Linked DNA regions of Homo sapiens: all the other regions are linked to region 5. The links are contacts of gene promoters, found by promoter capture Hi-C in blood cells and fetal thymus (Javierre and others, 2016). All regions are on one chromosome and are shown on one strand. Each heading gives the region's core, a stretch centred on a gene start or on the middle of the fragment in contact. The rest is flanking DNA. Distances are from core to core; before and after follow the strand shown.

Region 1 (3,855 bases), core at 339-2,838, 2.5 Mb after region 5:
TGCTTGGTAAATATTCCACCATCCCTTTATTTTGAGCCTATGTGTGTCTTTGCACGTGAGATGGGTCTCCTGAACACAGCACACTGATGGGTTTTGACTCTTTATCCAATTTGCCAGTCTGTGTCTTTTAATTGGAGCATTTAGCCCATTTACATTTAAGGTAAATATTGTTATGTGTGAATTTGATCCTGTCATTATGATGCTAGCTGGTTATTTTGCCCGTTAGTTGATGCAGTTTCTTCATATTGTCAATGGTCTTTACAATTTGGTATGTTTTTGCAGTGGCTGGTACTGGTTGTTCCTTTCCATGTTTAGTGCGTCCTTCAGGAGCTCTTGTAAGGCAGGCCTGGTGGTGACAAAATCTCTCAGCATTTGCTTGTCTGTAAGGATTTTATTTCTCCTTTGCTTATGAAGCTTAGTTTCGCTGGATATGAAATTCTGGGTTGAAAAATCTTTCCTTTAAGAATGTTGAATATTGTCCCCCACTCTCTTCTGGCTTGTAGGGTTTCTGCCGAGAGATCTGCTGTTAGTCTGATGGGTTTCCCTTTGTGGGTAACCCGACCTTTCTCTCTGGCTGCCCTTAACATTTTTTCCTTCATTTCAACCTTGGTGAAACTGACAATTATGTGTCTTGGGGTTGCTCTTCTCAAGGAGTATCTTTGTGGTGTTCTCTGTATTTCCTGAATTTGAATGTTGGCCTGCCTTCCTAGGTTGGAGAAGTTCTCCTCAATAATATCCTGAAGAGTGTTTTATAACTTGGTTCCATTCTCCCCATCACTTTCAGGTACACCAATCAAATGTAGATTTGGTCTTTTCACATAGTCCTATATTGCTTTGGCTTTGTTCATTCCTTTTATTCTTTTTTCTCTAATCTTGTCTTCTAGCTTTATTTCATTAAGTTGATCTTCAATCTCTGATATCCTTTCTTCTGCTTGATCAACTCAGCTACTGATACTTGTGTATGCTTCATGAAGTTCTCTTGCTGTGTTTTTCAGCTCCATCAGGTCATTTATGTTCTTCTCTAAACTGGTTATTCTAGTTAGCAATTCCTCTAACCTTTTTTCAAGGTTCTTAGCTTCCTCTCATGTGTTAGAACTCTGGTTCTGGTTTCTCCCCATCTTTGTGGATTTGTGTACCTTTGGTCTTTGATGTTGGTGACTTTAGGATAGGGTCTTTGAGTGGACATGCTATTCCTTTCTGTTTGTCAGTTTTCCTTCTAACAGTCAGGCCCCTCTGCTGCAGGTCTGCTCGAGTTTGCTGGAGGTCCACTCCAGACCCTCTTTGCCTGGTTATCACCAGTGGAGCCTGCAGAACATCAAAGATTGCTGCCTGTTCTTTCCTCTGGAAGCTTCATCCCAGAGGGGCACCTGCCAGATGCTAGCCAGAGCTCTCCTGTATGAGGTGTCTCTTGTCCTCTACTGGGAGGTGTCTCCCAGTCAGGAGACTTGGGGATCAGGGACCCACTTGAGGAGGCAGCCTGACCCTTAGCAGAGCTCGAATGCGTGCTGGTCTGCTGCTCTCTTCAGAGCCAGCAGGCAGGGGTGTTTAAGTCTGCTGAAGCTGTGCCCACAGCCACCCCTTCCCCCAGGTGCTCTGTCCCAGGGTCATGGGGGTTTTATCTATAAATCCCTGACTGGGGATGCTGCCTTTTTTTCAGAGCTGCCCTGCCCAGAGAGGAGAAATGTGGCAGTCTGGCCACAGTGGCCTTGCTGAGCTGCAGTGGGCTCCACCCACTTTGAACTTCCCGGAGGCTTTGTTTACACTGTGACGGTAAAACTGCCTACTCAAGCCTCAGCAATGGCAGATACCCCTCCCTCCACCAAGCTTGAGCGTCCCAGGTTGATCTCAGACTGCTGCCGTGCTGGCAGTGAGAATTTCAAGACAGTGGATCTTAGTTTGCTGGGCTCCTTGGGGATGGGAACCGCTGAGCCAGACCACTCGGCTCCCTGGCTTTAGCACCCCTTTCCAGGGGAGTGAACAGTTCTGTCTCGCTGGCATTCCAGGCGCCACTGGGGTATGGGAAAAAAAAAAAAACAACTCCTGCAGCTAGTTCACTGTCTGCCCAAACGGCCACCCAGTTTTGTGCTTGAAACCCAGGGCCCTGGTAGGATAGGCACCAGAGGGAACCTCCTGGTCTGCAGGTTGCGAAGACCGTGGGAAAAGCACAGTATCTGGGCCAGAGTGCACAGTTCCACAGGCTCAGTCCCTCACAGCTTCCCTTGGGGAGGGGAGAAAATTTTCCAACCCCTTGTGCTTTCCAGGTAAAGCAACACCCCACCCTGCTTCGGCTTGCCCCCCATGGGCTGCACCCACTGTCCAATCAGTCCCAATAAGATGAACTGGGTACCTCAGTTGGAAACGCAGAAATCACCTGCCTTCTGTGTTGATCTCACTAGGAGCTGCAGACCAGAGGTGTTGCTATTCAGCCATCTTGCCAGCAATCGGCTTTTGTTTTTTTTGTTTTTTTTTGTTTTTTTGTCGCCCAGAGTGGAGTGCAATGGCATGATCTTGGCTTACTGCAACCTCTGCCTCCCGGGTTCACATGATTCTCCTGCCTCAGCCTCCCAAGTAGCTGGAATTACAAGTGCACACCATCACACCCGGCTAATTTTTTGTATTTTTAGTAGAGGGGGTTTCACTATGTTGACCAGACTGGTCTCGAACTTCTGACCTCGTGTTCTGCCTGCCTTGGCCTCCCAAAGTGCTGGGATTACACGCATGAGCCACCACACCCGGCCATGATTGACCTACTTCTAGGCAATGATGTAAAGAGAAGTCCACTGAAGACTTAGGGTTGGGGTATTTTTCCTTCCACATAAGAAAGAAACATAGAAGAAAATGTTCTATTTTTGCCCCTTCTCTCTTCCTTCCTGCTTGATATGATTCTGTGTTAGAATGTAGTATCTGGAGCTATGGCAGCTATCCTGAGATGATGAGATGAAAAATCTGAGGACAAAATGTCAACACATTGAGAATGCAGTGAGAATAAATGGAAATAACCTAATTTCTTGATGGTGATGTTGGGTGCTTGAAGTATACAGAGAACATCTAACATCAGGCTACTTGTTAAACAAACAAGAAATGTCCTCATGTTTTAGTCACTATTAGAGTATTCTCTTATTTGAAACTGAATCTAAGTAATAGAAGCACAATTATCCTCTAGGTAAGAGTAAATTTCTCCCAGATTTTGAATTTTTTTCTGTGAGTCTTTGTTCTCAATATTGCTGTAGGGTTTCATCTTTTTTCCTTTATCTTCTCAAAGTTTTTAGTAAAAATTTAGAAAAGTCTACTACACTAGGAGCAACTAGAAAAATTCTAGTTTAAATTAAAATTTTATATTCAGATTTTAATGACTTCACTCTCAAAGAGATTTTAAAGTCTCTGGAGTGGGTTTCCCCCTCCCGCCCTCCTCTATTTCCCTTCCTTCTCTATATATGATGACTCAAATAATCATATTGTCTTTCATGTGGCTAGTGTCTTACAAAAAGATGTAATATGCATTAACACATTTAATCTTCAGATCAACTCAACAAATATTTATTGTATAATTAATAATCTCAAGTCCCTGTGCTAAATACTCTGAAGAATAAAAAGATGAGGTAGAGTTCCTGCACCCATGCAGCCTACAAGCTGGTTGAGCTGGCAATACATATCCACCTATCTCCAATATAACTGTGATTTGTGTAATTTGAAATATAAGCAATACATTTTCAAAGCAAGAAGAAGGAATTAATTTTCCAAAGGAGAAAATCATTGAGTTCATAGCACAAAAGGACATATCATCCAGACATTAGCTACTTCCTTGTCCTCTTTAAGCTACCACCGAAAGAGTCTATTCAATACAACGTAGTGAAC
Region 2 (3,711 bases), core at 327-2,826, 2.6 Mb after region 5:
GTTCATAACACTTCTGCAGCCAATCTGGCATGCAAAAGTCAGAAAAAGCAAGTTTTTTCAATCCAAGGCAATCAACATCTTTTGTAGGTAAAACGGCAGCACTCCAAGAAGCCACACAAGCTCTCCAATAACTGCTGTGTCTGTAAGTCATAGGATAAGGTAGGCAGCATGGAAAAGACTGCTGACCCCACACCCACTGCCAGCCACAATCAAACATCTAATATGAGGGAGAGTTATTTACAGGCACTAAAATCTACTTAGCACTATTGTCATATACCAAAGTCTACAAGCGAAATAATTCCCAAGGGCATCTGGGCCAGCTGTCACCCTGACTTCACAATGAATGGAGTTTGTTTTGACAGCTATCTGCTGCCATTTTTGCCTCTATATAACTTTTCTAATATCTTCCCTCCTCTTCTTTCTACTCCACGAATTAGCTTTTATTGAGCACCCATTTTGTATGTGCATGATGCTGTGGCAGGGACACAGATAAAAAAGCCTTGGGTCTTGACCTCAATACATCCATAGTACACAAATAGATAATGAGAGTATAAAGTGAGAAGTATCTAGAAGAATAAAACTAAAGTGGGAAGGAGGGAGCTTAATTCTGCCCAGGGAATCAATCAGAGATCATAGAGGTAGAGACATTTGAAATGGGCATGAAAGGATCTATAAGTATTTATGTCTGAGAGAATGGAAAAAGCAACCCAGGCAAAAGTCTCGTAATAGGAGATATGTGCGGGGCATTGACCATGTTCTATGTGGGATTTGGTAAAGAAAATGGCATGATGTGAGGCAGGAAAACTAGTCTGCGGGAAGATTCCCAAATCCCTAAGCATTCGTCCTAGCAACCATTGACATGGTCTGTCCTTTCATTCACCCCCATCTGCTCAGTGCCCAGCACGTGCCTGATGTGGCATAAACCTGGGGTTGTAGCTGTGTACAGCTCTTTATAGTACCCTCACCCAGATCTGCCTTATACCTTAACACTTCTAACTCCAGAAAGATCCCCCTCTGTGGACTCTGAGCCCTCCAAGGAATTACTAACTAAAGCATTAGAAAAGTTGAGGCCAGGCGTGGTGGCTCACGCATGTAATCCCAATACTTTGGGAGGCCAAGGCAGGCAGATCACTTGAGGTCAGGAGTTCAAGACCACCCTGGCCAACATTGTGAAACCCCATCTCTACTAAAAGTAAAAAAAAAAAAAAAAAAAAAAAAAAGCTGGGCATGGGGCATGGTAGTGGGCATCTGTAATCCCAGCTACTTGGGAGGCTGAGGCAGGAGAATCACTTGACCCAGGAGGTGGAGGTTGCTGTAGCCGAGATCACGCCACTACACTCCAGCCTGGGTGACAGAGTAAGACCCTGTCTCAAAAAAACAAAAAGAAAGAAAAAATAAAAGAAAAGTTGAATGCCTACTCTTCCAGTGGGTTTTTGCATTTTAGAAGAAGACATATTGACTCAAATGGAAAAATTGGCATGGAAAAAATTTTGAGCAGAAGAACCATTCTGCCCTTCATAGCTTACCCTTAGGTGTCACTCCTCATTCTCTCTGCTTATCCTTATTTCTGAATTAGAAGAGCAGAGGTATACCTGCTTATTTGCACCCCACTCCTGATCTTTGATTTCTCTCCACTAGAAGTCACGTCAGTTCTCACAGGAATTCAAGAGGTTTCAATCTCACCCCTGCTACACATTCACGTGACAGATGAGGTTCACATATGGAACACATTTTCCAAGTGCAGCCTATATAATGGCCTGAAACACAAACAAAATCAACCTGAGATTTTGTAGGGTTACTAGGATGCTACATATACTAGGATACTCCATTACCCTCCCACATAAGAAAGCATGCTGGAATGAAAGTAAGCCTGGGGTTACAATAGGGATAGTCTTGAATCCATTCTAATTTGTAAAGGAAAAATTGTAAGCAAATGTTGTTACTTCACTACTAGTATCACATCACATGAGGCATGCTTCTAAATGATCCTGTTCCTCTAGTATGACACATTACCAAGCTGGAAAGTCACTGGCAAAGGTTCATACATATAATCTGACAGTTCTCAGTAGTACACTGTATGTCAGTAATGCATCTATAGTTTTCAAAAGTGTCCAGTTCACTCTTAAGGCCTACATTACAAATAGTTTGATTCGACTCATTAATGTGCTATACATACACCACAAAGTCCTACTAAACAAAACCAATAACCTTACGGAATTGTCTTTCTATTTTCTAATTTCTAATGTTCTAACTTCCTGTGTGTTGAGGTTTCAACATCAGCAAGTGTTTGCTTCATTTTAATAAAGAAAAATACTTTTAATTTTATTTGGCATATAAGCTAAGGTTTTTTGGAATACTATAGCTTAAATGATTATTTTTTAAATAACTAATAAAATTTTTATGGGCACTACATCCCTTGAACAAAACTGCAAAGGAAATTTCAAACAAGATCTTGAGTCCTTCATCAGCGAGCTTGCCATGAAGGAAACATTCTAAAATCTCAGTGGCTTGTAGCAGCAAATATTTGTTTACTACTCACATGTCTGCATCTGTGGAATGGATGGGGTACTAGAGCTTTGCTCAACTCTGTACTACATTTCCTTTCATACCGGGACCTCAGGGAAAGATGCTTACTTTTGTGGCAGAGGCTAACAAGAAGCAATCACTTTTGAAGTTTCTGTGCAAATATAATGTTTGTCTCATTGGCTCACATACTGTTGGCCAAAAAAAAAAAAAAAAAAAAAAGTCACATGGAGTAGCCCAACATCCGTGAAGCAAGAAAATACATTTTTCCCATAGCAGGAGAGGGAAATATACATTTGCAAAGAATAATACAATCGGTCAAAGAACACCTTCTCTGGATATTCACTTTCCTTCCTTTCTCACTCAAAGTTACTCGCTCCCATTAAATATACCTTGAAAATTGCATCCGCTTACGGCATCAGGTGCAAAGTTGAAGATCTTGTGGTACTCTCTAAGTCAGGAATAAAATAACTCATACACACTCACATAAAATGGTGAAACAGGGACAGAACAACTACAATGAAACCTCCATTCATGAAGAGGAAGGCAGACAGACACTTAGCCATCAGTAATACACAGTAATTTTGAAATTCTGCTGAACAAGCATCATGAGGCCTCCTAACCTAGAGCAGGGAATATTTCTTGAGTAGCCTCTGTTCAGCTCTTGAGGAGGTAGAAGTGGAGATACCCTCAGTCCATCATTCTCTGTGTCTTGAATCCACCCTCTGGAACATCTTCTCTTTTTGGTTATTCTTGTTGGATGCACCTGAGGAGAGCATTGGAGACAATGCCATTCTAGGGGAAGGAGCAGCTTTCTCAGCCTGCCTCTTGCCCAAGAAAATTGGGGCACAAATCATCTCAAACAGTTACAGTCTCTTTGAATTGAAGATGACAGTGCTTTTGGCAGTACAACTCTTTCAAAGATATAGCTATTTATCTATGTGATTACATTTCTGTGTGCCAGTAGCTGCTACCACAATTATTTTGTAGATGTATGTTTTTCTTTAGACTTAATTAAAGATATTGTGTGCTTATCTAGTTATGGCAGAACTGTGCCCTTAGGATTTGTGGCCACACCCCTAATTTTAGCTGTACCTATGTCTTAATCAGTGTTTTTGGCTCAAAACATTTCTTAATTTTATTTTTTATCAATTGATGATTGAAAACAGTTTCACTTTTCAACTCTGA
Region 3 (4,023 bases), core at 1,272-3,771, 2.2 Mb after region 5:
AAATACCTTGAAATTACTCCTCAAAATTGACAAAAATCTTCAAAGACAAGGAAAATCTGAAAATGTCAATCTAGAGGAGCCAAAGGATACAAGACAACTAATTATAATGTGGTATACTTGATATGAATATGTGTATATATGTACATAGGTATACACACATATATCAGACGGTCAGCATTACATTTAATAGAAAAATAATGAGTTAAAGCCACTAATAAGTTATAGACAAAACAGAAAAATTTTAAAACAAAATAAGAGATGAAATAATACTCACCAAAAATACAAGAAATTAAAATAAAACCATTAAAATTATTCCACTGAAGTGTCTAGATACAAGAAAAAGTTATTTTCACATTATAGACGGAATCAGAAAATATATATGGAAATATATTTTAGTCACATGAAAATATGTAACATAATCCTACAAAAAATTGTTTGATCTATGTAAATAAAATAAAGGGAGAGAGAGAAGAGGTTTATACATAAATTAAGTATGCCAAGCACTGCACTGGAATTTCACCTTCAAAATAATTCAGTAAGATAGGTATTATATAACCACTACTGATGTGGGTAGTCAGGCTCTGAGTAACTAACTTGCACAAGGTCATAAAATTTGAAAGTGTTTGAACAAGAATTCAAATCTTGAACTGAAAAATGCCAAGGTCTATGTTGTCTCACAGCATTGTGCTACAGAATTTAAAGTTTTCTCATCGTCTCTTCATATTAAGCTATCCCAATGAACGAGAATTCATTTTATTTTATTTTTTTACTATGTTGGTGGAAAATAACCTCGTTGCTTTTATGAACTTTCCAATCTTTGTGGATGTATTCTGCAGTTAAAATCCTAACATTTTCTTGACCTGTTTTCACATTATAAAACTTTAAGAAATTATTCTAATAATTAAGTGTGTATATTATATTCTTTCGATCCATTACTTCATTGTCCTAGTACCTCTATTCTGGTAGGCATTCAAGAAGGTTTCTGAGATTTTTTTTTTATTCTCTTTATACAACATCTTCTGTTGACATCTTGTATTAATACATAGTTTAGAAATCTTGAGTTTTAGTCTTTAATATAAAAAACAGCTGTATGTTCCTTTTCCCCCCTAACATTTAATGTGGAGTACTCAGACAGGAATCTGGTTTTTGTTCTTCCGTGTTTAAAGTGGACTTATTCTTGTGGGATTCATCTATGCAGTTTGAATATTTTTTGAGATTTCACATAATGGTGTTTTTTTTTTATTTTAAACTTTGCTTAAAATAACATGTACTCTATTTCAAGATTAAAAACTTTATTTAGATTTGGAAAAGTTTTATTAAGTGTTTTTGCATACTAGCTGCAGTGCAAGAAAAGTAAAAGCAAGAGGAAAAGAATAAAAACGAGAAAAATCAAAGACCAAAAGATTTAGAACAAAAATAAGTGATAACTTGTAAGTTCCAGTTCTGCCCCGTTAGTTGTGTGTTTTAGAGAAAGTTGTGTAATTCCTAAACTTTATTTTCCATAGCTATGATGATTATAATCCCTGCTCTATGAAATATGTGAATTAAATAGGAAACCAGATATGACGGTGTCTAGCATACTACCAGGTCTGAATGTCCAACCATTAGTGAAAAGGAGAAGAAACGACATTTTAAATATGACCTATGATGAAGAAAGAATTTTATATTGGGAAATTCAGTATCGTTAGAAGATTGCTGAGAAATCTATGAGAAAAATTATATTAACAACTTGTTTAAAATCCAAGCTTTATTCTGCTGTTTAAGACCGGATCTCATTTTGTTCTCTGAGATTTTATTTGGTGTATGACCATGTTTTACCCTCACAATTCAATTATTATGTAAGCATATTTTAAAAGAATTTCTGCATTTTTTAGGGAACAATAGTTATTTTTTTTCCTGTGAAATATAAACTCAAGTGTCCTTCAAGCCTCAAACATAGTGCAATGATTTGGGTCCCACTGTCAATCTCAATTGTCTATACCTATAGGAGGCAAAGCTGTTTTCATTCAAAACAACAGGAGTACAAATATACCAATCCCTGATATCTGGTGCTGTCATTTTACATTACTGCAGTCTGAATGCACTGTCATTTAAAAGCACCAACTAAATTGATCTCTATTTTTTTTTATAATTCAAAAAAATTATACTAACAGGGTTTGGATCCATGAAGAATTATAGTTCATAATGACCAATTTTAACATGTTTTACAATCCATCAAAATGGGAATAATACCTTAGGGTACAATTTATTTTTCTTTATCATAAAATTCTGCCATAGTTACAATGGTCATATACATTTAAAGAAATGAGTCCCCTGCAGAGGTAATGAAAGGAAACGCATTCTATCTTTCTGATGTTTTATTCTGGCTTTTTTGACAGCTGAAGATACCGAAGTGCAATCAAATGCCTTTAGCACAGTAATGAAAAACATAAGCATTAAGCAAATTTGTCCACATGAAATAATTGACAGTGGTACAAAGTGATTCAATTCAGTAGTTTATAAAATATAAGAATCTGATTCAAATTAATTTGGAATGGCAACAATGAGAAACATATGCTACATGGCAAATGAAGGAAATGGATTCATGTGCTTTGCCTATATTCATTCCCATTTAAAAGAAATAAAAGCATAAAGCATGTTATGATTTTCAAAGAATGTTCTTAGTTCTTCTTCTCTGGTATTCTATAGAAGTATATAAACGATCCTGCTCTCTGAGAACAAACAACCTCATATATAAGAAGCAGGAGGCCAAAAAAGAAAGAAAATACAAAGACACAGAATATTGATTGACTGAACCACTAGATTTAAATCAGCCTTTCCTGAACTTTCTTTCATTATAATTCAACACAAATGCTTATTTTTGCAAAAAGAAAAAGTTATTTGAATGTAGGTGTGTTTATTTTAAAAGTTTGGTGTTTTTCTTTGAATAGCAATTTTTAATATACTGATATAACTCAGAATGAAGGTTTAAAAAACAATTTTTAAATGATACACAGAATAACTACAGTATGCTAAGAAAATTAATTTTTTTAAGCCTAGGACTTTCAACAGGATGAAAACAACATAAGTTTGTTTGTACCATGGGATTTTAGGCACAATGAATATACATAGAATTTTATATATGTGCAGGATTATGTGCTGTTGATCAAGATAACTAATTTCTCTGTCTGCCAAGAATTATACTCACTGTAAAAGCAGAAGAAATTTCTCAACCAAAATTGATAAAACACTATAAATGATTTCTGCTCATTTCAACAAGATAAAAGAAAAAGGCATAAATATTGAACATGAAGCTTGAAAATATTTTAAAAGTCAAATTAATACTTTATTTGCAACATAAAATAAAACACCTGGTTATTTCATTGTTCACTGTTGAGACAATAGCAAGTGGCTGATATGGAAAATTTCAGTGAGTTCTTCTAGTAGCCCATCTGTCTGCAGTGTAGCTATTACACAGCTTTTCTTTATTGGCATTTTATGTCAATGTCAAATATGTTTGAGGACTATTTAAGGTTTCATTATTACAAAGTTTCCCAATATTTCTTTGATTTAAAATCTTCTATCATTTGCATGATGCATTTATATGTCAGTAAGATCCTCATTAATTTCATTATTTGACCTAGGGGTATAACAGATGGTTTTTGTTGTTTGTATTTATTTACTTGCTTTCCTGATAGTTTCTTTTAGAAATTATTTAACAAAAATTAAATATTTTAAATGCTTGCTTATTATTACACACATCAGATTTTTTTTTTTTTTTTTTTTGAGACGGAGTCTCGCTCTGTTGCCCAGGCTGGAGTGCTACACCCACCAGAATTTTTAACATAGCTTTTTACTTCAGCAGTTTATAAGTCATGAACAAAACACAAGGAAACATGAACTAATGTTTACTGAATAAAAATTTCTAAAAGTTAGAGATTTTATATGCATTGTAATTCATCACAGTAATACAGGACAGTTTTTATTTTATTCCTGATTCATAGATGATGAAACTGAGTATCAGAGAGGTTAAGAAACTTGCCC
Region 4 (3,717 bases), core at 233-2,732, 2.2 Mb after region 5:
AGGACATTAACTGAAAAGTCATTATATAATAGTATGCTTTTCTTACCAAAATACCTAAGTATTCAAACTTTTCATACATTATATTTTGATTTGTCATTATCATGCCCTCAAGATAGACACTATTTACCCTCATCTTTTAATGTGGATACTGCGATATGGAGAAGTTAAGTGATTTGCTTCAGGCTTCCAGAAGAGTTAGAATTCCAAATCTCCTGGCTGGCAGTTTCTTGTCTGATACATGAGACAGCACTGCCCCTCTAAGGCAGCTGAATGTATACAGGAATCAAGCTTAGAGGCAGGATTTACCGTTATTTTCAGGCAAGGTTTATAAGAAGCTGAACAGTCTCTAAGCAGCTAAGAATTCAACTGCTGAGTCATTTTTTTTTCCCAACCATTCAAACAGTTTAACATGCCTTCCTCTCCTTAAATCAGAACACAGACTTCTAATTCCAGGATGATGAAAGCCTGTCACTTGACGGTGAGGGGTGCGTTTGATGAATATCACAAGGTAATAGTGCATATCTCTTACTGATGAGATCAAATGAAATTGTAGATTTAAGATGTAAGTGTGGCATAGAAAAAAGAAGATTAAATCACATTCAGAAGAAAACAACATTTGGGAGAAGACATCTAGAGACAAAAATTGTCAAAAGTTTATTGTAAGGCTATGAAAAATGAGCTTAAGAAAAGCAAAACAGATTATTACAATATATTGAAGGTTATTGTAATGTAACTGTAAACAGGTTATTACAATATACCATGAAGCTTACTCATTTGTAATGGGTTGAATTATGTCCCCCCAAAATCCATATGTTGAATCCCTAAGCCCAGTATTTCAAAATGTGACTATGTGTTTAGAGATAGGACCTTTAAAATGGCAATTAACTTAAAATGAGGCTCTTGGTTGGGCCCTAATCCAGTCTGACTGGAGTTCTTATAAGAAGAGGAGCTCTGTACATACAGACAGTCTACAGGCGAATGCGTGCACAGAGAGATGATTTTGTGAAGAAGGAGCAGAGAGCAGTGATCTGCAAGACAAGGAGAGAGACCAGAGGAAACTCACACTGACAACACCTTGACCTTGGACTTCAAGTCTCTAAAATTGTGAGAAAATAAGTTTCTGTTATGTAAGCCACCTAGTGCATGGTATTTTCTTATGGCAGCCTTAGTAAAATGAGACACCACCGATTTTGTGGATTAATCCAGAAAGGTCAAGGAATGTGCCTAAGACCACATAATGGTACACTTGTCCTTGGTCCACTGCTGCCCTTCTGGGGTCTTTTCCTGACCCACTCACCTGCAGCACAGGGTGTCAGTGCCTTACCCATTGGCTCCTGTGATTTGCCTCTACACAGGATCACTGTCACCTATGACTGTCTGAGGCTCATGTTTCTGACTGAAGGTTCCCGCTCAGCCTTTATACAGGCTAGGCACACACAGAGTGCTGGACAGTTGATGCCCAAAAAAAGGCTCTACATACATAATGGACAGGAATTTGGTGAATACATATCCCAGCTTCCTTACTCCTTGGTCAGGATAACTCTGGGCCTCTTTCTATGCTGTCTCCCAGAGTTCTCCAGTGAGGCTAACCTCCGACTGCTCACAGTAGTAACTGGTTTGACAATGTACCTCTTTAGGGGGTTCATTTCCTCTCCATTATATTTTCCCACTCCTCTCCCAATAATTCCTTGGATTACCTCCCAAATAAACTACTTCCACTCAAATTATTGCTTGAGATCAGCTTCTAAACCCAAACTAAAATTCTGTCTCCATGTTCCTCTCATTTAAATCATCATTCCAGTTTATAGATTTGAGATTAGGCTACAGATTATTTGAGAAAGACCTAAAAAGTTTCTAAAGCCTTTTTTAAGACAGATTAAAAAAAAATAAGAAAAGTGCATGCCTCCCAACTTTGTAATAGTTCTAGAATTTAAATTAGTTTTCAAAGTGTCCACCCTGAAATCACTTCTCTTTGAAGACCTTTTACTCTTGCTCTATAAATATGCTCATATGTGTCCCCTTAAAAAATTAACACTTCCTTGACTCTGGTTTCCTCTAGTTTCTGTTGAAGTCACTGAAATGTTTCTGGCAAAAAGACCCTGTAAGAACACTGCCATATCTAATGAACACCTTTCAATTATTACCTTACATAGAAGTTTTAATGCAGTCTAATTTTAAATTTTTTATAGCATAAGCTTTATAACATCTTTTCTTACCCCAATATCAGAAAACCATTCTCTTATATTTTCTGCTCAAGGGATTAAGGTTTGATTTTACATTTAGATCCTATTCTACTTGGAATTTATCATTAAAAGACCCTCATCTATATGATATATTTTATCACTCACTTCTGAAATCCTTCTACACCAGCTTCTTTGACTCTTCTCATCAACTGACCCTTTTAGATTTCTAATCATTCATTAGTGGTTGGTTTATACATTCCTCCTCTTGTGCATACTCTGGGAATTCCCTCAGAGCCTGCCTTCTGACCAGTCATTTTTTATTACACATTCTTCATACTAATCATATCCCCAGCTTTATATTTATATTCTTGTTTTGTATTTATGCACTTCTTACTGAACCTTAAAATCAACAAATTCAAAAATTAATCATATTTTTTATTCTACCAGTGAAACATCCTGTTTTCCCGGTATTCTATTCTACTCTGATTAATTGTACTATCATCTATCCAACTGCCCATTTCAGAAATCCAAGGGTAGTCCTATATTCTCTTAATTATTGCCTCAACTCACATTTCAATAAATTAATCATCAAGTTCCAATAATTTTAATTCCCAAATATTTATCACATCATTTCTCCTTTCTTGGTCCCACCTACATCTTTACAAACTGGTCAATACATTCTTCATATTTTACCTAGTTAATTTAGATACCTTCTTTGTACTGTACTGTACCACTCAAACCCATACTCCCCAAGGCCCCCAGAGAGGTGTGACAGCAACAGAAATTACTACTGCTCACCAATATTTCGAGGTCTTGTCTCTTTTTGCATGTAGAAAAACTTCAACCTTTTCAGATCTCTTACACTTAAGTAGGACCATATGACTTCTTTGAGCAATGGTTTTTGTAGGGAAGCAATTATTTACAGGTGGAGGTAATGAAAAGTCTGTATGTGACTTTCCGTTCTCTATTCCCCTGCATCATCCACCAAAAAGATGGTGCAAACCGGTTAGCCAGGGTTTGAGTGAATATTTAGGTCTGAAGACCCTACTTCTTCCAGCCAAATTGAAGATTTGTAGGTTAATTTGTTATCTCAACTTAAAAGCCTACCATTACTGATACAATGTCTAAAACAAAATTTTGACTATGTCACATGCCTAAATAAATCCTCCAATAGTTTGCTTACCATTCTTGAACTATGGTCCAATAATTTTACACGGTAAAATAAGGACTTTTATAAGTTATCCTCCACTCATCTTCATCTCATGCTCAGTGCTTTCACTTTATGCTCTAATAATATACTAAGTGCTTATTCTTTTTGTGTATTCATATCTTCACACACTTTTTTTTCTGAAACAGAGTCTCGCTCTGTCACCCATGCTGGAGTCTCACTCTATCACCCATGCCTGATCACAGTGGTGTGATCATGGCTCACCGCAGCCTTGACCTCCTGGGCTTAGGTGATCTTCCCACCTCAGCCTTTGGGGCAGCTAGGACTACCGGCGCCCACCAACACATCAGCTAATTTTTGTTGAGG
Region 5 (3,760 bases), core at 370-2,869:
ATGCCTGTTAAGTTTAAGACTCAGCATACTAGTCCCCACTTAACTTAGAATAATTTGAGCATGAAATAGGAGAATATGCAAGCAACCATGAGAATTGCTCAAAATTGACTACAGGCATTTTCAAAAACAGTTAATGACCTAATCATTATTTTTTAAAATACTGAGAGTCACAATATTAATCATAATGAACTCCTTTAAGCTCCCTGTAATGGTCATAAGTACTTCTGTAATTCTGTTGCAATTCAACAGTAATCGATGATATCTGCATTAATTTTTAAATTTGACTATTTGTCTATAATTTTAAATGCTAGTATTCTAATGAACATCTACTTCTTTCATCCTTATTTCCACAGTCGTAATTGAGAATCAAAGTAGAAGTATTGACCCTCTAAATGATTTTCTCTTTTAAATTAAGAAACAAATGAATGAAATGTAGGTAAGGCATTGAACATACAACAGTTTAAAAGTTTTTTGCTTCTCACCTGCATTTAAATTACCACATGAAATTGTATTTTTCTTGGGAGAACAGTTCTAAGATTTAAAAGTAATATAATTCTAAAATATTTAGTGGATTCTGGTTCTTTCGCAAATAAATATAGTTGAAACAACTTATTGTTCAGGTCATCAGAGTAATTCTCAGGTTTGTGTATGTGCAAATTGATATTCTCTTCCGTATATCTCCCTACAAAACATGGTAAGGATGTCTGAACATAATTTTTTAATCTATCACAATCCTATACAACCTTTAGAAAAAAGCTCAGCATAATCCAAGATACAGTTTTTCTCAGTCTCACGAACTTTGTAGAACTCCACTTATAGAGCATCCCTACTGAATTTTAACAAGTTATTGCAATGCCAGATGCCCAATTATTTAGTCTCGGAAACTCATTGCTCAAACATAAGGCATACATTCAGTACCTGAGAACGGCATCCTATTTTCCAAACATTTAGTTTCTTTTGTAGAAACATCCTCACTTTATCCTGGCATTTATTGCCTTACAATTTGCAATTTGCGTGTAGGAATTGCTTACTCTTATTTTGGGTGGCATTAGGAGATATACAAATAGGTTATATTTACTCTTGTTTCAACTTTTTGCCATAAAATCCCAGCAGGAAATAAAGTCGTGTTTTGTTTCCTTTATTTAAAAAAGCTTCATCTTACAGTTTTTACATTCTGGCAACATGGCAAGAAAGGATGGCTTTGCAGAACAGAGTGTGTCAAAAATCCTAAGTGGCTGGGAGATGAAGTGCACAATCACAGAACGCAGTCACTGGCAAAGGAATGTCAGCCACTTACCAATAAGATGCCAGACTCCACTGTCCTTCCTCTGTGACTCTCAATTCCTGTCTCCCATCCTCCTGCCCATCAGCACAGTTCAGAGAGAGCGGTTCCTCGGGTCCTTTGCAGCCTGTGGCAGAGGCGAATTGCGGAGTTCTTAATCATTCAGAGGGAATCCTCCAGCTTGCCCTGCCTCTCGCAGCAGACGGGACCCAGGTAACGCATCCTCTCCGCCCCGAGCTTTAATGGCACTTTGGCTGCCGCCTTCTCGCAGTTCCGCTCCCCCACGCCGTAGTTGGTTATATTGGGAAGTAGGTGCGGCGCCTCCTGCGGCTGGTGTGTTTGGGGCTCGCGTGTTTTCCTCCAATGCGTCCGCGCGCCCTGCGCCCCGCGCCTCTGACTGGCTGTGTCCTCCCGGGGCGGCCCCTCGCCCCTCCCCGGCCGCCCGCGCTGTCACCGGCGCCCGCGTCCAGCGCCTCACTGCCTCTTGCTGCAAAGGTTCATTGAGCATGTCCCTGGGCTTAACGAACTGTGCGCCTCCCGGAGGGTGCTCTGTGTTTCTCCACTCGTCTCACTAGTCAACCGGCATTTTCCTTCCCTGCTAAGTACAGAGGACCTGCCCCCCTTCCCCGAGCGTTTCTGCTCTGCAACCCCTCCGTATTTAACATTCATAGATTACAAAGCAAACGTGCTGGCTGGAGTCGGCACGGGAGATCCAGGCGAGAGTCCCTTCCTCCGCTCCTGTCTTCACTCTGATTCCTGTAGTCCCCGGCTCACACCTCTGACAGCAGCAGCACAGACTGACGCGTTCACTTAGGTCGGTTTGAGAGTGGACTTTTTCACTTTGCAGAATTTTCTTAAGTCCTGAATGGGAAGCACTTCTCTTTTGTTTCTGCACTTACGCGTTTCATCTAAGGACTATCAGGCTCTGCCTGTTTATATTTCTCTTTGATTTGGGGTGTTGACTCAGTTCTAAAAAAAAGCGAAGGAATGGTCTCAGCAACCTTTTTTTCGGAATTTTTATATTACAATGGCTGTAATTGGAAAAATAACACAGGTAGTAAATCCACAGTGTGGCAGCTTTAGTGCCATTGTTCTGCCAGTCCTCCTCTCTACTTTTTTTTTTTTTTTCCTCTCAGTCTTTGAGTCGTTTTCCAATTCCCACGATTGGGCTGATGGTAATTGGGTATTTGTTAAATAAATTATATAACATTTCCTTTGCAATATATTTCCATAGAGAATGTGGTTTGCACCTGTATTTAATGGAAAGGAAATCCCACGTACTGCTTTCTATCTCTGTGTCTGTATAAGAAACTGCATGGGAGTCTAGGGTCGCACCCCGTGTCCGCTGGTGTCCGTTTTTCATGTGTGTTTGAGAGCAGCCTGACCCTGGACTGACGCTGATTCTTCTGCTCACTGAATCCCCCGATGGGGTCTGACTGGCTCTAATTGGCAAGGAGAGTACAGTGCCAGGCAGCCTGTAGCTGGAAGCCGTCTACCACTAGCCCTGTGTTCTTTCTCTTGCAGTTTTTCTGGTAATTAAAATTAGTCTTTTCCTGTTTCTTGGCTGCTTCTCATTCATCCAATGATGTACAAACACCCAGTCTCTGCTTTTAATCGCTATCCTCAGGATCTAGGCTGATTGCTTGTTCTGTAGCAAAGACAAATTTGTGTGCATTTAATACTTCTCCACTCTTCCATACTTTTTATATTCGTGTTCCTGCTTTCCAGTAACTAGGTTATCTTCTTTATGTGTTAACTGAGGGATCGTTGTGGAGATTCCCCTTCTGTGGCTTTTTCTCTGCCCCACTGGCTCTTCTCCTCTGTCAGGCTGTCGGTTCACAGAGAGAACTACCAGGACTTTTATAACCACATTAAATACATCACAAAATAAATTCAAAGTGTAGGAGCTCTAACGCATTCTTTTTATTGTTCGATGAGGTTTTTGCCTTTAAAAGTGTATAATTGAGCACATGCAGCCTGAAAGAGGGATCGGGAGTGTAGAAAGCTTTCTGAAAGTTCTCTTCCCTTCTTAGAACACCATTCTATATTACCCATGATCCGATAATTTGGGCATTTTGAGTCATTATGTCACATAATTTCTTTCAACTAGCTTTGCCCTAGAAAGGATGTAAGTTGGCTTATAAAAATCTATTCAGTTTAAAAAAATGAATAAAAAATGTAGGTCAGTGAGATCAAGACAAACGGTAAAGTGATAGGAGGAGAGATAAGATGAAGCCAGAAATGAGGTTTATAGAGAAAACTGCATTGATGTTTTTGTTACAAATGGTGCTAGGTCTGCCATTAACTTTGTTAGCAGCCAATGTAAAGAAGGAAATGCTATCGGTCACATGATTCATGGTGCCCTCCTACCATTAACATGAACAAGAAAATTTACCTTTTACATGATGTAAATGGACTAAATATTTCTCCTTTCTTAAGCAAGAACTAAATAAAAGCTTTTAATGTTTCTACTTTTTA
Region 6 (3,894 bases), core at 884-3,383, 2.6 Mb after region 5:
AACAATGTGGTTATACTCAAAATATTAAATATACTCAAGTTTTTAATTAAAGTTCTTACTGACAGGGATTTCAAAATGGTAAAAGGAAAAAAACCCTCTCAAATCTAAAAATGTATATATAAATGCATTTGCTAAGTGAAATATGTATGTCTCCCCTCCTATCCATTGTTTTAAAGGCAGGGATGAAAACAGAAGTATTAAACTCAGGCCTAGAGCTATGGGGAGAAGCCTGACTACTGTTGCTTAGAGATAGAAACTTCAAAGGCAAGGGTCCAGATTCCGTGATCATAATAAGATTTCCGACATTTCTTACAAGCTAATGAGGCACCTCCAGATCAAACCCACCAGCAACATGGTAGTATGTTAAAGAAGTTTAATTGCCAGAGAAAATTCAAACCTGGTCAAGAAGGTCCTGTGATTGCTCAGCTCCTAAAGCAATTCCTAGACTAATATAAACTTGCCAACAGACCTCATTCAGCTAAAGCAGTGAAGCCCTCATGTAATTAGGTACAACTCTTGACTACAAATGACAGTATACTGCTTAAGCAATAAGAGAATATTTTGAACTCATTCAGCTGAAAATTACATAAGAAACACTGAATTGTGACCCAGCTGGATGAAATGCACAAATGCTGGCATTGAAGCTCTCTCACTCTCTCCACGTAGCAGGCACAGGGTCTCCAGGGCCCCAAGACTCACAACCCACCAACCTTACAGCTGCAGTCATAAGAGAACATATTCTCCAAAAACCCCTGAAAAGGAGTTCTGAGGAGGAGTCTGACCCTCTGGTTTAGGTTCATGTGCCCATCCCTGTAGCTGGGAGAAGAAAGAGAAGAATGGGAGGTTTGGTAGGCAGAAGGGGTGTAGCTATGTCTCAAATATATGGAATGTGTTTCCTTTAGAGAGGCGAGATTTTGTGATCAGGAGAGGACTGTATGCTGGGAGACAAAATAAATAGAGGTCTTCAACACTTCAGAAGGTGAATCCTCATTGATGCCACTCTTGGGAATTGCCACTGGAAATCACAGACCAGGAAGATACTCCTGGCAAGCAGAACCTGAACAAAAATCAAGTCTATCCTAATACAGGAAATCAGACCACTACTAGGGCAAAGAGATCTTTGACATACCTATCTAGCAAATGTAATACAACCTGCAGGAGAGCAACTTCACTGTATTCATTCCCTTCTATAAAACAGAAAAAAAAATCATAGTTAAAAATGAGTGAGGGCAAATTCTGCAATATCATAGGTAAGTTTATAAGCAACTGGATTTATTGGGAAAACATACAAATCAAGGATTAAATTTAAGAGGCATATAGTCTGCATTGTCTTATTATCACAAAGAGAGGTCTAAAAATCAGTTCAGCATACTGATGGACACACCCCAGGTCCCTGCCCCCAGGAGAGGGATCCTGACTCTCCACTGTCATAACATGCAATCATGATAAATTTCAGATATGGGGTATAAATACAAAGGATGTAGACACCAAGTTGTCTGAGTATAAATGCCAACATGGCTAGGAGCCGTCTGAGAATGCTAGCTGCCATCACCTGATAATTTCTGAGTGGTGGGATGCTGCTGCTGCTGCCATTCCTGCTGCTGGAAAGGGGTTCCTGTTACAGTGGATAATTGGGTTCAGGCATAGCCCTTCCCTCTGGGAGAGGGCCAGCCTCTGCATCTAACTTGCTGAATAACCGTTTTCCTTCCAACATTCAATTTGGCATCTAGCCTTCAGTTGCAGGGTCAAGAAGAGCCACATTCAAACCTGACTATATGAAATAATTATCACCCAGAGATATTGGACTTGGAATAGAATAGAGAAACCAAATGCTATTTCTACGCCATCTCCATTTAGAGAGAGTGTAAGTAGGGGCTTTTGCTCTTATTCTTGGTGTTGAATGTGGGATCATTTGTAATGTTACTTGGGATGTTATTAGAACTGAGACGGAAATGCAGGTTTGCTGTAGGGGGGTCACAAACAGTGATATGCTGGGCAGCCCAGGCATAGCAAATTGTGGGCAGTGGCAGCTATTGGTTTTGGCTGTCCCACAGGGTTCCAGTGGGGATTTTCCCCATCCTCATCCTCTGGATAAGAGGACCAAGGGAAGGCCTAGTTATTCCTTTTTTCTGTAGATACAGTGATTGGGTGACTCAGAGGCTGATGTGTAGCCTAAGCAACTCCAGTTAGAATAATTCCCTGAAATTAACTGCAAGGTATATCTTGTCACATCCCTGCTCAGAACTTTATAGTGACTTCCCATCAGAGTCAAATCCAAACTCCTTACCATAGCCGATGAGAACCCGCATGATCTAGCCCCAGTTTCCACTGTCTTTTCTGCTCCTCATCACTTGCCACCTGGCACCTTGTCAACACACTCCGGCCATACTGTTTTTCTCTTAGTTCCTATAACATGCCAGGCTCTTTCCCACTTCAAGGATGTTTTCTTTGCCTCAAATTTTCTTCCCTTTGACTCTTTTTCTTTTTTGTAACTTTTTTAAAAATATAATTTCAAATTTAGAGAAAAGTTTAAAGAATAGTAAAATGAATTCCTGTATTCCTCTTGGATATTGTAATTGTGAATGTTAAATTGTGTGTGTAGATTCTTGCTCCTATTTTAATCCTCTTGAGATTGTTAATGTTTTTGTTTTAGCAAGCAAAAAACCTGGGTATATTCAGACTGTACTGTTTCTCACCTTTTGTGAGCCCTGATTTTAATCTTCATTTAGCTCGAAATCATCACTATGTTGGTCTACATTTGTCCTATGAATGTGTTATTTAGGGGTTAGGCTGAGACTTCTATAAGCAGTTCCAGTCTCAGTTCAGTTTTCAAAGCCTTAGCTATGCTGAATTGGGCCTGTTCTGTGCATGTATAGTTTATGGGTTAGACTGAGACTTTGTGCAGGTTTGCATGCAGTTAGGGAATCCTTTTCTCTGGATCCCTCCTCTCTGGGATTCTCCACACACCGCCATACTCCCAGACTCAGAAATGCTCCTTTTCCTTATACTCCGTTCAGAAAAAATATGGTTTCTATTAGAGTTTCAGCCATTCACTCATGTCAGCACTAAGAAGATATTATCCCATTGTTACCTGGTTTCTATTGTTTCTATTGAGAAGTTATCTGTTATTCCATTGGTTACATCTTTACAGGTAATATTCTTTTTTTTCCTGGCTGCTTTCAAGATTTTCCTTTAGCATTGCACTATAATATATTTAGGTGTGGGTATCTTTTTATTTATATTTCTTGGGATTCATTAAGCATCTTGAATTTGCAAACTGATGTCTTTAATCATTTCAGAAAATTCTCAGCATTATTTCTTCAAATTCTGCTGCATCCTCTCTCTGCTTTCTATCTGAGACTCCAATTAAACAAGGGTTAGACCATCTTACTCTATATGTCTCTTACTCTCCAGATTTTTTAATCCCTCTGTGGATTTTTTTTACAATTAAATAAAATTGGCAATGAATATTTTCTTCTGACATGTTCCAGTTCACCAATTTTCTCTTTGGTTATGCATAACTGAGCTAAATACCTTAGCAATTTTTGTTATGTTTTTCTTTTAGAAATAGAAACTCTAATTCTTTTTCAATCTGAAATTATGTGTTTTATCATTTTAAGTAACTTGCTAGAATTTTTAGATTTGGATTTTGATTTCTAAACCATTGTAAAATACCGATTTTACAAAGGATGTGTGATAATTCCACTATCTGGAGTACCTCTGGGTATGTTTCTCTTAACTTTTTGCACTTTATCTTGCTTACGTTGTCTTTCCTTCTCAGATATTTGATTATCTTTGATTGTATCCTGAACATGGCATTTGAAAAATTATTGTAAAAACAATCTGAGACCTCAGGTAATGTTATCTTCCTCTAATGTGGAATTTTGTCTGCTT
Region 7 (4,050 bases), core at 1,481-3,980, 2.4 Mb after region 5:
CAAACTCTTCCTCAGCTCTTCCTTTATCCCCCCAAACACCCTCAAAACCCTTGTCTCACTGATAGCCCTCCATGGGTACCACCGTACCTGTTTTCCATACGTGCTACTCCTTTGGGCTGCTAACTCAAATCTGAGAAGCTGACCTCTCAAAGAAGAAATAGTCTGTTCCATGCCATTCACAAGATGGCCACAATATCCTCTAAACTAGAACCCCTCCAAGGTCTTCAATTATAAGTCAAGGTCTCTGACAAGGACTCTTAGGCCCTGCACCCAATCCCTGTAATATCCCTATCCTCCCAAAAAGTAAGAATAATGTCAAAGGATACCAGTTAGTCCAGGACTTGAGAGCAATAAACAAATAGTCATTCCAGATTTGCTCTAGATTCTAACTCAAATACATTCTGGCTTCTAGCCAACTTAATACCTTTCACTTTATAGTCATTGACTGGTAGTCTTTTTTTTTTTTTCAGTGTAGCTCTTCAACCCAACTCACAGTATCTTTTTGCTTTCATATGGAAATCAATAGTTTACATTATGCTTCAGGGGTTTACTAAAGCCCCTATTTGTTTCCCTCACACTCTACACGCAAATCTGAGATATTGGACCTTATCCTGAAACTCTTATTTAGTACATAGATGACCTTCTCTGCTCACCTGATTTTGACACCTTGCTTATCTACAGCCCATATTCACTACAAGCTCTTGCCCATAAGGGGCATAATGTCTCCAAAAACATGCAATTATGCAGCCCTCAAGTGCATTACCTAGAACATGATATCTTCCTTGAAGGGAATAATTTATTCACTAAATGAATTAACACCATCATCAATTTTCTCATCCCTGAGACCAAAAGAACTGCAAAGATTTATAGGATTTATTGCCTATTGCCAGAACTGAATTACTAACTTCTATTACCACCTCTCCTTTTGAAGCCACAGCTAAGGAGTCCATTTCCAAACCCCTTAACTGAGATTCCCCTCCCATGTTTGCATTTCAAAACCTCAAATCCTCTCTATCATTTCCCCTGACTCTTGGACTCTACAGTTACTCATTGAGTTTTTCCATTTTTTTATGCATAAAGGAAAAGGACATGCTTTAGATGTCGCCATCCAAAAATACAATGGAAGCCAAAGTCCTGTTGGATTCTTTAGCCTCACTTTTGACCCTGTGGCTCAGACATTTTCACTTTGCTTTAGTTGCTGTTGCTACCAAATTGGTCAAGATCAATACTAACTTAATTCTGAGTCATGCATTCAACCTTTATGTGCCCCAAGTAGTTAAGACCCTACTACTAACTGAGAATATTCAACACTCTTCCACTTCCATCCTCACGTCCTGTGAGATCCTACTACCTTATTCCTCTCATATTGCTACTTATCACTCTCTACACCTCAGTCCTCTGCTCTTCTTCCCCTACTATCTGAGGAAGAACCTGATGACTGTATCACTCTCACCCAAACTTCACCAGAACTCCCAAATACTCAGATGTCACCTCCTTTGTGCACAGTTCTTACCTCAGGCATACAAATGAGGAGTTTTATGCAAAATATACTATCCCAGATTTTGAAACATTTGTTGAGTTCAAACCCCTACCTAAAGTTAAATCAGCCAAGCAGTTAAACTGATAGCCCTCGCCAGACTTGCATACTAGCACAAGATAAGAAAGCTAACATTTGCACAGGTAGCAGATATTCAATGGAACTCAAGTAGCTAACCTCTTAGAAGCCTTGCTACCCAAGGAATTAGCTACCCTCAAAGCTGAAGCTCACACTAGACAGTCTCCTGATGCTAAAGGAAACCCGTGGGGAGACAAATACGTCAAGAGAGCCACTTTGCAAGAAAATTCTTCCTCAGTTGCCTGCACTACTCCCCTTGCTCAACCTCCTTTAGAGATAGAAACTCTAATTAAGGAACTTCTGGGACAATAATTGCTAGCATCTAAGGCTGAGAAAGCTCATTGAAAACAAGCTACATGTTTTGTACATGTGAAGACACCCAGATGGCTACTTTTCATTCCTTGGTTTCATATCCAAAATTTAATCCACAACATCAGCAAAGCCCACAGCAAAGAATATCTTTAAAATATCCTTCAGAAATATTGGTAGGGTCACATCAGCTTCATGGTAAGCAAATAACCTCAACTTTCTCAATTTGCCACAAAAAAAAAAAAATACAATCCTGGCAAAAACCTAAAGGTAAGGCAAAGATGAGAGACAGTTTCCTCTGTTCCCTTCCTCATTGGCAAATGGATTTTATTCCACTTTTAAAGTATTATAAATATGAATAGTTTCTACCATAGTCTGCATGTTTTCAGGATGATAAGAAGATTTTACCTGCACATAGGATACTGCCACCACTATATTTAAGTTGCTACTAGAAATAATTTTCCCCACTTGGAGAATCCCTTTTTTCCTGTCTATCAATAGAGGAAATCCCTTCACTGGTAAGCTTACTCAGGATATTCAAACACTACTTCTACTCTCATAAGAACTCACTATTCTTACTACCTTCAAACCTCTAGAAAGATATAATGGTCCAATAGTGTTTTTAACTTCATAGTAGCGAACTCTTTGAGGAACCTAACCTGTCTTTGCCCAAAGTCTCTCCTTTAGACCTAATGATCCTTTGAACTCCTCACCACCCAGTCAACTTTATCCTCCTGTGAAATTATTACTAGCAGGCCAATCAATGAGATATTACTCTGGACATTGCTTTGGAATGAAGCAGACATTGCAATCTGCTACAATATATTATCCCTAAATACTGCCAAGCAATTGTTAAGTGCACTTACACTTTCCCCCAACAGGTCAAGTTGTTTCTCCCAAGATATACCACCACAGCTTAAACATCATTTTCAGATGGGAGACCTAGTCTTCTGGAAGACACTACTGAAAGACCGATCCTGAACCCAAGTATAAGAGGCATTATGCTGTCTCCTAACTATCAATACCACTGCAAAGCTACAAGTAGTACAAGCTGGGGTTCATGTTTCGCAATTTTAAAACTAAGCTTTATTACAAATGGAAATCCACACCAACAGAATACCATAAAGAGAGGATCTTTTAAAAGTCCCCAGAAGAGGATGACAACATGAGATACATTGCATTCCCAAGAACTTGGCACCAAGCAGATGACAACTCAAAGTGGTCAGCTTCTACCCAAGACACTGGATCAAGATCCCTTAGGATTCTTATACTTAATTTCTTCTGTAAACCTCCTTTGTAACCTACTCATCATCCTTCTTTTATTTTTCTTATTGAGCTATAATTCACCATGAAGTTCACCTTTTTAAAGTATATGATTCAGTGAGCTTTAGTATATTCACAAGGTTGTGCAACCATCATGACAATCTAATTTCAGAATATTTTTATTAGCTTAGAAAAAACTCCATTCCCATTAGCAGTTACTCCCCACTCCCCTCACCCCACCCCACCCAGTCTCTGGCAACTACTGATATAATTTTTGTCTCTATAGATTTTCCTATTCTGGCCAATTCATATAAATTGAATTATACAATATGTGGCATTTTGTGTCTGGCTTCCTTTATATGTTTTCAAGGTCCATCCATGTTGTAGCATGAATCAGCACTTCATTCCTTTTTATAAATGAGTAATGTTTCATTTTATGGACATACATATTGGATATCCATTTGTCAGTCATGGATATTTGGTTTGTTTCCACTTTTGAGCTATTAGGAATAATGTCAGTATGAAAATTTGTGTATATGTTTTTGTATCAATATATGTTTTTAATTCTTCTGGATAGGGACTTATAAGCAGCACCTCTGGATCATATGGTCATTCTAAGTTTAACTTTTTGAGGATTTGTCGAATGGTTTTCGAAAGCAGAGAGACCATTTAACATAGCTGCCAGCGATGTAAAAAGGTTCCAAATTCTCCACATCCTTGCCAATACTTGTTACCTGTCTTTTAAAATTATAGTTATCCTACTAGGTGTGAGGTTGTATATCATTGTGCCTTTCATTTGCATTTTCCTAATAACTAATAATATTGTATGACTTTTCATGTACTTATTGGTTGCTTCTATATTT

The links. Contacts are between HindIII fragments. The CHiCAGO score rates a contact against its expected background, and 5 or more counts as called.
Region 1: a contact is called between a fragment that was not itself captured here and the fragment with the promoter of CNTN5 in region 5, in 2 of 17 cell types (M0 macrophages and M1 macrophages). The highest score is 10.0, in M0 macrophages.
Region 2: a contact is called between a fragment that was not itself captured here and the fragment with the promoter of CNTN5 in region 5, in 16 of 17 cell types (M2 macrophages, M0 macrophages, total CD4 T cells and 13 more). The highest score is 165.5, in M2 macrophages.
Region 3: a fragment that was not itself captured here is called in contact with the fragment with the promoter of CNTN5 in region 5 in 1 of 17 cell types (endothelial precursors); the score reaches 5.2 in endothelial precursors.
Region 4: a contact is called between a fragment that was not itself captured here and the fragment with the promoter of CNTN5 in region 5, in 1 of 17 cell types (fetal thymus). The highest score is 5.1, in fetal thymus.
Region 6: a fragment that was not itself captured here is called in contact with the fragment with the promoter of CNTN5 in region 5 in 9 of 17 cell types (M2 macrophages, M0 macrophages, M1 macrophages and 6 more); the score reaches 32.9 in M2 macrophages.
Region 7: a contact is called between a fragment that was not itself captured here and the fragment with the promoter of CNTN5 in region 5, in 1 of 17 cell types (fetal thymus). The highest score is 7.1, in fetal thymus.

The regions. Positions count from the first base shown.
Region 1 is chr11:96,485,417-96,489,271 of GRCh38, reverse strand. All of the region lies in intron 1 of JRKL-AS1 (JRKL antisense RNA 1), which reads left to right. Among named protein-coding and RNA genes, the nearest start is that of JRKL-AS1, 20 kb to the left of the region's middle. RefSeq lists an enhancer at 981-1,775. The HindIII fragment of the contact is 476 bases long and covers 1,351-1,826 here.
Region 2 is chr11:96,466,207-96,469,917 of GRCh38, reverse strand. The region is part of intron 1 of JRKL-AS1 (JRKL antisense RNA 1); the gene reads left to right. Among named protein-coding and RNA genes, the nearest start is that of JRKL-AS1, 39 kb to the left of the region's middle. The HindIII fragment of the contact is 6,884 bases long and covers 1-3,711 here.
Region 3 is chr11:96,800,966-96,804,988 of GRCh38, reverse strand. No RefSeq gene overlaps it. Among named protein-coding and RNA genes, the nearest start is that of LINC02737, 290 kb to the right of the region's middle. The HindIII fragment of the contact is 1,548 bases long and covers 1,748-3,295 here.
Region 4 is chr11:96,823,962-96,827,678 of GRCh38, reverse strand. No RefSeq gene overlaps it. Among named protein-coding and RNA genes, the nearest start is that of LINC02737, 320 kb to the right of the region's middle. The HindIII fragment of the contact is 1,430 bases long and covers 768-2,197 here.
Region 5 is chr11:99,018,808-99,022,567 of GRCh38, reverse strand. CNTN5 (contactin 5) reads right to left here and starts at 1,619. Exons shown (of 25, transcript NM_014361.4): 1 at 1,298-1,619. The HindIII fragment of the contact is 2,136 bases long and covers 1,154-3,289 here.
Region 6 is chr11:96,441,212-96,445,105 of GRCh38, reverse strand. JRKL-AS1 (JRKL antisense RNA 1) reads left to right here. Exons shown (of 5, transcript NR_047481.2): 5 at 1,731-1,825. Among named protein-coding and RNA genes, the nearest start is that of JRKL, 53 kb to the right of the region's middle. The HindIII fragment of the contact is 5,718 bases long and covers 1-3,894 here.
Region 7 is chr11:96,628,168-96,632,217 of GRCh38, reverse strand. No RefSeq gene overlaps it. Among named protein-coding and RNA genes, the nearest start is that of LINC02737, 120 kb to the right of the region's middle. The HindIII fragment of the contact is 561 bases long and covers 2,450-3,010 here.